Linked DNA regions of Homo sapiens: region 1 is linked to region 2. Evidence: promoter capture Hi-C in 16 types of primary human blood cells and fetal thymus (Javierre and others, 2016). All regions are on one chromosome and are shown on one strand. Each heading gives the region's core, a stretch centred on a gene start or on the middle of the fragment in contact. The rest is flanking DNA. Distances are from core to core; before and after follow the strand shown.

Evidence for each region. The method cuts DNA at HindIII sites, captures the fragments that hold promoters and counts their contacts. A CHiCAGO score of 5 or more calls a contact.
Region 1: a fragment that was not itself captured here is called in contact with the fragment with the promoter of POLI in region 2 in 1 of 17 cell types (activated CD4 T cells); the score reaches 6.5 in activated CD4 T cells.

What each region holds. Positions count from the first base shown.
Region 1 is chr18:54,114,952-54,119,485 of GRCh38, forward strand. No RefSeq gene overlaps it. Among named protein-coding and RNA genes, the nearest start is that of SNORA37, 110 kb to the right of the region's middle. The HindIII fragment of the contact is 779 bases long and covers 1,084-1,862 here.
Region 2 is chr18:54,266,131-54,271,151 of GRCh38, forward strand. POLI (DNA polymerase iota) reads left to right here and starts at 3,387. Exons shown (of 10, transcript NM_007195.3): 1 at 3,387-3,531. The coding sequence starts at 3,417. LOC124904307 (a long non-coding RNA gene) reads right to left here and starts at 3,775. Exons shown (of 2, transcript XR_007066379.1): 1 at 3,696-3,775. RefSeq lists enhancers at 2,749-2,898, 3,159-3,288, 3,819-3,868 and a silencer at 3,499-3,748. The HindIII fragment of the contact is 5,901 bases long and covers 521-5,021 here.

The DNA of each region.
Region 1 (4,534 bases), core at 223-2,722, 150 kb before region 2:
TGAGCTACATTTCATAACAATTTTGGACACACTTCCAACAGCCACAAAAGAAGGTCCCTAGACGTACTACATTATGCACGTGTCCAAGAAAACAGGCAGCTTGTAAAGCCCCAGAGAGAAAATGCCAAGGACTGAGGCAACTGTCTCAAAAGCTCCTCCTTCCCTTCCAGGTGTTAAACTAAAGCACACACATTTTCATATACTATCCATGTGTCACCCAGGCACAAAGGAGATTGACATTGCAAGAAATCAGTAAGGAGTATATTTAGTTTCACTTCTGAAATGCTCAATTAAATGTGGCTATAAGTTCATAAATTTTTTTTTTAAGTTGGGCACACATCTGTAACCCCAGCTGCCTGGGAGGCTGAGGCAGGAGGACTATGTAAGCCCAAGAGTTTGAGACCAGCATGAGCAATGTAGCAAAATCCCATCTCTTAAAAAAAAAAAAATTAATTAAAAAAAAAATTTAAAAACTTGAGTAAAGTTAATGTACCATACAAGTTTCACATCTCCAAGTGTAAGCTATTTCCCAAGGTGGAAGAAGAAGGATTGCTTGTCATGTAATTCCAAGAATCACTAATGAGACAGCCTTAACTTTCTATTCTATCCCTTTCATGAGAAATCGATGCCCCTGGACCATTGCCTATGCCAGCTCAATTATCCTCAAAGATTTAACCTCATAATATTTTATCTTATTCTGAATCTGCCCTTCGAAATTATTCTTGCCACCAACTGTATTTTTGAAACCCCATGAGATATAGGGTGTGGAATTTTTTAAAGAGAAGCACTACTTGACTGTTGCAATGGGGGAGAGATGTATTTACTAGTGGTGCATGTAAAGCACCTGGTGCCCATATGTCTATCTAACAGAGGATCCATTTTTAGTTCTAACGCTGATCAGAAAGTGACTTTTGCTGTCAATAGTAATGACAGTTAAGAGTAGATCATGGAAAATACAAGGGAAGATGGCCAAAGCCCTGAAAGCAATTGGATTGAGGATCAAAGAGCTGTCAGAACAAACAGCTGGCATCCCATTCTTGGGATAATAATAACAACAGTTTTCAGAGCCTTCTGGAGATAATAAGCTTCATTAGGCAAACAGTATAAGTGAAAGAATATCTTGCTTCTTCTTAAAAACAAAATCTTTTGTTTTTCTACCACTGGGTTTCATGATGGAAGCAAATGAAATCTCTGGATACACGAGTATGGGGGAAAAAAGCATAAGAAATTCTTCAGAGAATAATCACATTTTATATAGTGGAAAAAGAGATGCCCAGAGTAGACAAGAACAGGGCCTCTTCTCTTTACATTCTCTCATCATTTTCTTACTGAGAAACTTTCTACCAGAACCGCACTTTTGATTTGTTGTGTATATTTAAGTGTATAGAAAACTTGTGTGACTTTCATTCCGAAGTATGAGTTCAATCATTACGAACTAATATATCCTCACAAATTTCTGAAGTAACAGCTACCTCCAGATTGCATTGGGGACAGATATCTGAACACAGGGGACCCAAATGACTATAGCATTTAGGATTCTAGCACCAGGAGGGAACTGTTCCAACTGCAAAAAGAATGTTACTCCAGAAAATCACCCACCTCCTAGTACGTTACCTTGGCAGGATTTTTAATCTGTCTGGGAGAACTCATTGCATTTAGTTCAGTACTTAGATGACAAAGATGTGATTCTTTCTAAGCAAAGCCTAGAAAAGAAGGCCTATTTTTAAGAACCTTATCTGCCTATGTGAACAAGCAAGGTTTCCAGCAGAGCTGAGTTCTTTGTATTGACTTGAGAAGTGACTCCATGCATAAGCATAGCCAGCCTCTGAGATAAACAAGTCTGAGATGTAACTGGTTAGTAAAGCTTTTCAGTGAAGCAGGCATCGTTTTCTTCTCCCTCTTTAGTGTTTCATAGTTATTAACATTCAAATATAGTCACAATTTCTAAGCCAAATACTAATTTTTATGATCTGATATTTTAGATGAACTGCATTACTCCTGCCTCTGTGGGAAGAGATAACAGATCAGTGTTTCACCAGGTTTTTGTAGCTGCTTTGCTCAGAGGTCAAATTCTTGCTCCTCTCTAAAAGTATCAGTAATTGTGCAATAGATTGCAAAGACTTTCATCCAACAAGCTTGTGTGAAATACTATTACATGCTAGACACTGGATGCAAAACAATGAGAAAAACAAAGTCCTTGACCTCCAAATACCCTAGAAGAAATGGTCAAAAACACAGATTGCACTATAGAAATATACATACCATATTAGAGATATGAACAAGACCCATGCGAATCTACAGGAGCTGGTGGTCAGAGTGACTATTTCAATGTGGTTTACCAGTTATAGATAATATTTTGGGGCCCAAGAAATATTTTTGTGCTGTTGCTCAGTGTTCTGCTGGAATCTATCTGCTTTCCTAGGCAGGGCTTTACTGCCAGAGAGGACTTTACAAGCTTAAATCAAGTGTTAATACCACTATTACTATTCATCAGGCTGAAGGGTTATTTTTCTTGAATTCATCTTTAGGCGTCTCCTCTGCTAATTCAATGTCAGTGAGGTCTTTGGCTTCATAAGGATGTGAAGCAATAGAGTTACATAGGTTGGTAGATGAATAAAAAGAAGTGATACCAGAATGTAGACTTAGAGAAATTAGGATGAAATGGGAAAAAGAAATGAGAAGACTGGTTAAGAGCTCTTTCAGAAATTTATTAATAATGAATGTGCACAAAACTACTATCTGTACAATCATGTCTCAATTTATGTGTTATGTGCCATCTTAAAAACTGGACTGTGAAGTAATATTTGAGTCAAATTCTATTTCAAATGTACCTCAAGGCAATTTAAAAAAATAGTTTGGAAAATGTCTCTGTAAAGCAGAGACTCTTATAATGTGAATAATCATTTCCCTATTGTATGTCTTGTAAGTTGGAGTTTTGTCAGGTTTGCTTAATGAACGACAAACTGCACCTTCTATTTATGTTAAATAAATAAGTAATATTGAAGAGTATGCTGGAAGACTTCATCTTTCTGTGCAGTCTAGTCATTAGGTGCATGAGATCAGTTGCTCTAGTTCTGAATCACTTGCACCAAATAGACCAGTATCCCAGAAAATAGTCAGAATAGGAGGGGCAGTCTCTGCTCCAGGAAACCTTAGGTAAAAAACAAAACAGAAAGTGTTATCTAAGCCAGCACTTTTCAAAATTTAACTCATACATAAAGCACCTGGATTTTGTTAAAATGCAGATTCTAATTCAGGCGGTCTGGGGTGAGGCACAAGGTTCTGCATTTCTAACAAGTTCCTGGGTGCTGATGCCAATGCAGCTGGTCCATTTACCACGCTTTAAGCAGCAAGGATCTAAGCTAAGCTGACGAAATAAATGGCAAGAAGCATGTGTTGTACTCTGCAGTTTATCAGCAACTTGAATATCCAGGCAAAATATATTTGAGGTTTCCAAACCATATCAGTGATGAAACAGGCAGAAAAAAAGGGGGACTCGTTGAGACAATGTTTTCTGTTTCCTCCTGTTTTCTCATGTCGCATTCCCATCCCCATCCTCTCTTCTGTAGGAGGGGGCGCTCTGTTTAGTACAGGGAGTCGGCTACCATAACATTTCCAGCAGAGTCTTCCTATTTCACAACAACAGTGAAAAAGCAGGGTAACTGGGGAACGGTCAAAGGTTTAGCTTTGATCTCCCACAATATCATTCCTCTGAGCCTCCTATGCTCACTCTTTCAAAAAAAAATTAATGCAATGCCTTTTACTCTGGCTTCTTCCTCTCTTGAGATGTCTCTGGAACAATAGAGAGGTGCTGGATATGCTAAGTTTTTCCTTTGAACTAAGGCAAAAGGAGTACCTAAGCCCCAGAATACCTCTAGGCTCTAAGCACTGTATCAACTTTGAAACTAACTATGAGATTATAGTTCTATATTTTTAGAAACACATCTTTAACTGAAAAATTGTGGATAAGCCATTGCACCAACTTTTTAAAAGCCATGGCCCCAAAACAGGCACATAAAGAACTTCACCCTCTCTGGGCCTCAGAATAATTTCTGTACCTTGGTTTTCTCAACAGTCAGAGTAATCCATAAGAAGACACACCTCATATTGCCATTGTAAGGCTCCCATTTCTACATGGTTTAGAGAACTCCTTAAAACCACAAATCAATCATGACACTCAAAAGGATTTAACTTCCAATCAGTAGAAGTAAATTGCAGAAAAAATATTCAAAATCAAAATATTGCCACTTAGAAATTGCAGATCGCTATTCTACAAGCTGAAAAAAAATCAGTATATCAGAATTGTTTTTTCAAAGATATATCAGGCAAAAGTAGGATATAAGAGCAAAAATTCTTGCAAATGGCATGCCATGCCAATTAATTCTACATTTATTTCTTCTTAAAATCTCTTTTTTGTATGATGACTATTTTATGCTTCAAAGGAAAACCAGCGTATACAAAACAATTTCTATTGCTAAATACCCTTTCTGTGTGCACAAAACCACTATAAGAATACACATTCACTTAGGATAGA
Region 2 (5,021 bases), core at 2,137-4,636:
CCATAATATTATTTAATTAACTATGTCTATTCTGCCTTGAAATTGTTTTCTTCATTTGGCACTTAAATATACAGTTATGACCCAAGCTCAAGACAGCTATTTCCTGAAGTTATTCTAGATTAGATCCTATTAATTAAAACTGGGAGTAGGGATTTTTAGAATCAAACCCCAAAATCCTTTTTTCCTAAAACATTCCAAAACAATGAGACACGTTAGCTTATATAAATTTTATTTTCGTGCCTCTTAATACCTTTGAGGGATGTTTATTCTCCCCACTACCAGCCGTCTGGTGTTTGAAGCAGTGAGGAAAATGGTCAGAGCTAATTGATTTCCTATATGGAGAAAACATTATTAATGAATTCTTCACTGTGGAAAATTCTGAAAAGTGGATCTGCCATTACTAGATTCATAGCCTTGAGCAAGCATGTTAATCTCTCCTAGGCTATTTCATCTTTGGTAAAATGAGGATGCTGACATCTACCCTCTAGGGCTATTATATTGAATGAAATGACCTGTTTCAAGCTTTTAGCCCTGTGCTTGATATACAGGTGTTTTATGAGTGTCCTTTTTAGTGCTGCTTCTCTTCTTTATTTCCAGCACTTGCTAAATACTTTCTGGGGTCCAGGGCAAAATGAAAATATGGGGCTTCCTTGTTAAAAAATTAAGAATTTCAAGACAAGAGCAGAATATGAAATCAAGTGTTGAGCCCTATGTGACTGCCTACGTCACATACTCATCAAGCCAGCCCTGCTTGCTCCCCTAGGATTTCCAAGGGTCTACTTTTCTATCCTTTCACGAAATTAAAAGCCACTCTTCAAATTAAACAACGGATGGGGAAATAAATGCAACTAACTAAAGAGGGCTTGATTACGTGCATTGTTTTTTAACACTGTCTCACTTAAGCAACATGTTGAATGTTAGTGAGCCTAGGGCTCTTCTAGAGAGACCGTTTTCATCTGCCATAGTATTTTAGTGTTTATATCATTTTCTATCTGGAAGAATGAAAAGAAAAACAAACTTTGGTTGTCTATTAGTAATCAGACCACTGAATGTTGTCCAAGAAGCACTTAGTGGACAAAGAGACACTCAATTCAAAAGCTCTCTATGTAGGCTGGGTCGCGGTGGCTCATGCCTGTAGTCCTAACACTTTGGGAGGCCAAGGCGGGCGGATCACTTGAGGTCAGGAGTTGGAAACCAGCCTGGCCAACATGGTGAAACCCTGTCTCTACTGAAAATACAAAAATTAGCTGGGTATGGTGGCACACGCCTGTAATCACAGCTACTCAGGTGGCTGAGGCAGGAGAATTGTTTGAACCCAGGAGGCAGAGGTTGCAGTGAGCCCAGATCGCACCACTGCACTCCAACCTGGGAGACAGACTGAGACTCTGTCTCAAAATAAATAAATAAATAACTAAATAAAATGAAAAACCACCAAACAACTATCTAGACTTATCAAACAGCTTTCACAAAGATAGCAGCCTAGCTCTCTGAACAGGTAATTTATAACCTAGATAGCAGACTTTGAAAGAACTGGTCCAGACATCTAAGAATTAAATATGCAAAGAGGAAGATTTTGTTTCCAAACCACTGAGACCCAGCTCTGCTTGTTATTCCCTTTTCTTCATGGATGCATCAACATATCCTTTAAAGCAGGGGTCCCCAGTCCCCAGGCCATGGACCAGAACCAGTCCCTGGCCTGTTAAGAACCATGCCGCATAGCAGGAGGTGAGTAGCGGGCCCGGGAGTGCAGCTTCATCTGTATTCACAGCCACTCTCCACTACTGGCATGACTGCCTGAGCACTGCTTCTTGTCAGATCAGCAGCGGCATTAGATTCTCACAGGAGCCTGAACGCTACTGTGAACTCGCATGCGAGGGATCTAGGTTGCATGCTTCTTATGAGAATCTAATGCCTGATGATCTATCACTATCTCCCATCACCCCAGATGGGACAGTCTAGTTGCAGGAAAACACGCTCAGGGCTCCCACTGATTCTACCTCATTATCTATTAAAATGTAATAATAATAGAAATAAAGTGCACAACAAATGTAACGCACTTGGATCATCCCAAAACCATCCCCCTCCCTTCTGTCTGTGGAAAAATTGTCTTCCATGAAACCAGCCCCTGGTGCCAAAAAGGTTGGGAATGGCTGCTTTAAAGGGTTTCTCAAGGTTCTAATATTTTATTTGATAAGAAGTAGAATCATATAAAAAACCAAACATATGTGTTAATTTGGGTATTTATACAGATATAGTGTATATACATACATACAGGCATGGAGGAATTTCCAAATTTCCTCTATTGTAAAACATACACATACACACACCAACACACACATGCACACATGGTATCCTAATAGAAGGCAAGGAGAATAGACATTTACTGAGCACTTCCTATGTGCCACATGTTTTATATACATTAGGATATTACAGTATATGGTAGCTTTTATCCATTCATTCAATCTCAATACTTTTTTTTTTTTTTAAGAGTAGAGCAACTGAGGCTCACAGCAGTTATGTAACCTGCCCAAAGTCACACAGCATGATGGAGGGTCTGGATTGGAGATTTTGTCTGACTACAACACTCATGTATCAAATCCTATTCAGTTTTGATGTTAAAAATTCTGTGGTTGAATTCGTCACAGTGTCTTTAAATAAAACAACAACAAACAAAACACAGCAAACCTTAACATAGTTGCTAATCATATGAGTTTACAAGGCCACCTGTGTCTTTACTATCAGTTACACTCCTTCCCACCCCATCACATTAATCACTCAGGTCTAGGGATTTGCAAGTTTGCTAACAGCCGAATGGAACAAAGACAAAACGCTAAAATTTGTGATGTGGGCCTAACTCCAAAGCCTTCAAGAAAAAAAAAAAAAGGCCAGGCGCAGTGGCTCATGCCTGTGATCTCAACACTTTGGGAGGCCTAGGAGGGTGGATCACCTGAGGACAGGAGTTCGAAACCAGCCTGACCAACATGGTGAAACCTCGTCTCTACTAAATACAAAAAAATTAGCTGGGCGTGATGGCGCATGCCTGTTAATCCCAGCTACTTGGGAGGCTGAGGCAGGAGAATCGCTTGAATCCGGGAGGCAGAGGTTGCAGTGAGCCGGTATTGCGTCACTGTTGCCCACTCCAGCCTGAGCAACAAGAACGAAACTCCGTCTCAAAAAAAAAAAAAATAGCCATTTGTGCTTTCAATCTCTCCGCTTCCGGCCTCCACCCGGCGGGAAAAAACTCCCGCACGTGGGCCTCCACGATTCCTTGGCATGCGTGTCACTCTGGGCAACAGGCTGGTCGGCCACGACTGCGCAGGCGAGAGGCACAGAGCGACTGGAGACTGTAGTCCCCCGGTTTCCCTGGAGACCAGGCGGAAGCGGCCGGAAGTAGCGCTGCGGTTGGCAGCGGCGGGATGGAGAAGCTGGGGGTGGAGCCGGAGGAGGAAGGCGGCGGCGACGACGACGAGGAAGACGCCGAGGCCTGGGCCATGGAACTGGCGGACGTGGGGGCGGCAGCCAGCTCGCAGGGTGCGCCGCAGCCAGAGGAGCCAGCGGCCTCCTTGGGTGTAAATGAGAAGGGTGGGGCAGGCGGACGCTCGGGGCGGCGGCCACTGGGGCGCGACCGTCCCCGCCCCACTCGGCTCCTCTAAGAGAGGGCTGCCTCCCTCTGCCTTGTGTTACGCGGCGGGTACCTCTAGAGGAATGGCTTCACCCAGCAGGAGTAGGGTGGGGCGCGTCCACACTACAAATACGTGTCGAGGGTTTATCTGCGCCGTCCTTTCCTCTGTGAGGGGCGAGGTGGGGCGGGAATCCCTCAGCCAGCCCGACGAAAACTGCAGAGGCTTCTGGGCCTTTTAACTTTGGAGAAGTTGAGGACCTTGTCGCTCATTTGGCAGAAGGTGGGACCCGGATCTCAGTCCTGGCAGGAAGGGATGGCTCAGAACCTAGGCGGAGTCAGGTCCGCTGTGGTCACGTCTCCGGTGACCCACTTCCAGCTCTGGTCTTTACCTTGTACCGCCCACCTCAGGGCCTGGATGTAAAGGCACCGGTTCTCATTTCCTGCTGGTTTTGTTTCATTCATTAATTTAGAGACAAGGTCTCCCTGCAGCCTCGAACCCCTGGGCTCAAGTGATCCTCCGCCCCAGCCTCTCCGTCCCGAGTAGCTGGGACAGCAGGCACGTGCCACCACACCTGGCTGATTTTCAGATTTTTTTAGATCAGGTGTAGCTGTGTTGTCCAGGCTGGTCTCAAACTCCAGCCACAAGCGATCCTTCCACCTCAGCTTCGAAAAGTATTGGGATTACAGTAGTTAGCCATCGTGCCTGGCCTTTTAAATTTTGGAACTTTAGGTTTACCTGAAAGTTGCAGAGCTAGATCCCCCTAGTGTTAACATAAACTCAGTACATTTGTCAAAACTAGGAAATTAACATTGGTATAATACTATTAATTGAACTACACGCTTTATTAATATTCTACCAGTTTTTCTGCTAACGTTCATTTTCTGTTCCAGGATCCCAACCAGAATATTGTATTGTATTTTGCCTGTCTTGTTTTTAGCCAGTGTTGAGAGAAGGAGTCGCCTCTGTCATTCCCTCCCCGACAAATAATGACCTAACAACTTTTTAAAATCAAAGAACTATTCAGTCTTTCAATTTAGTGAATATTTATTGGTGGTCTGTTATGTCCTAGACACTGTTTTAGGCACTGGCGATTTAGCATTAAACCAGATAATCCTGCTGCCATGGGAGCTAAAAATAGCCCACACTTGTACCCACTGGTTGTCTTTTGCCATTTTGTATTTCAGTTTTTGTTGGTTTGTTTGTTTTAAATGTAAGGGCATGCTGCTTAGAATAATTTTCAAGCTGTGTGAAAATCAACGTCATTTCAACTTTTCTGCCCCTTCTGGTTTACACTAAGAGCTACTATAAACTTCCAGGTGATAGTATTAGCTCTTTCATCATCCATTATTTATCACATTTTTTCCCTTCAAACTTATTACTATCCTGAGAAAAACGCAG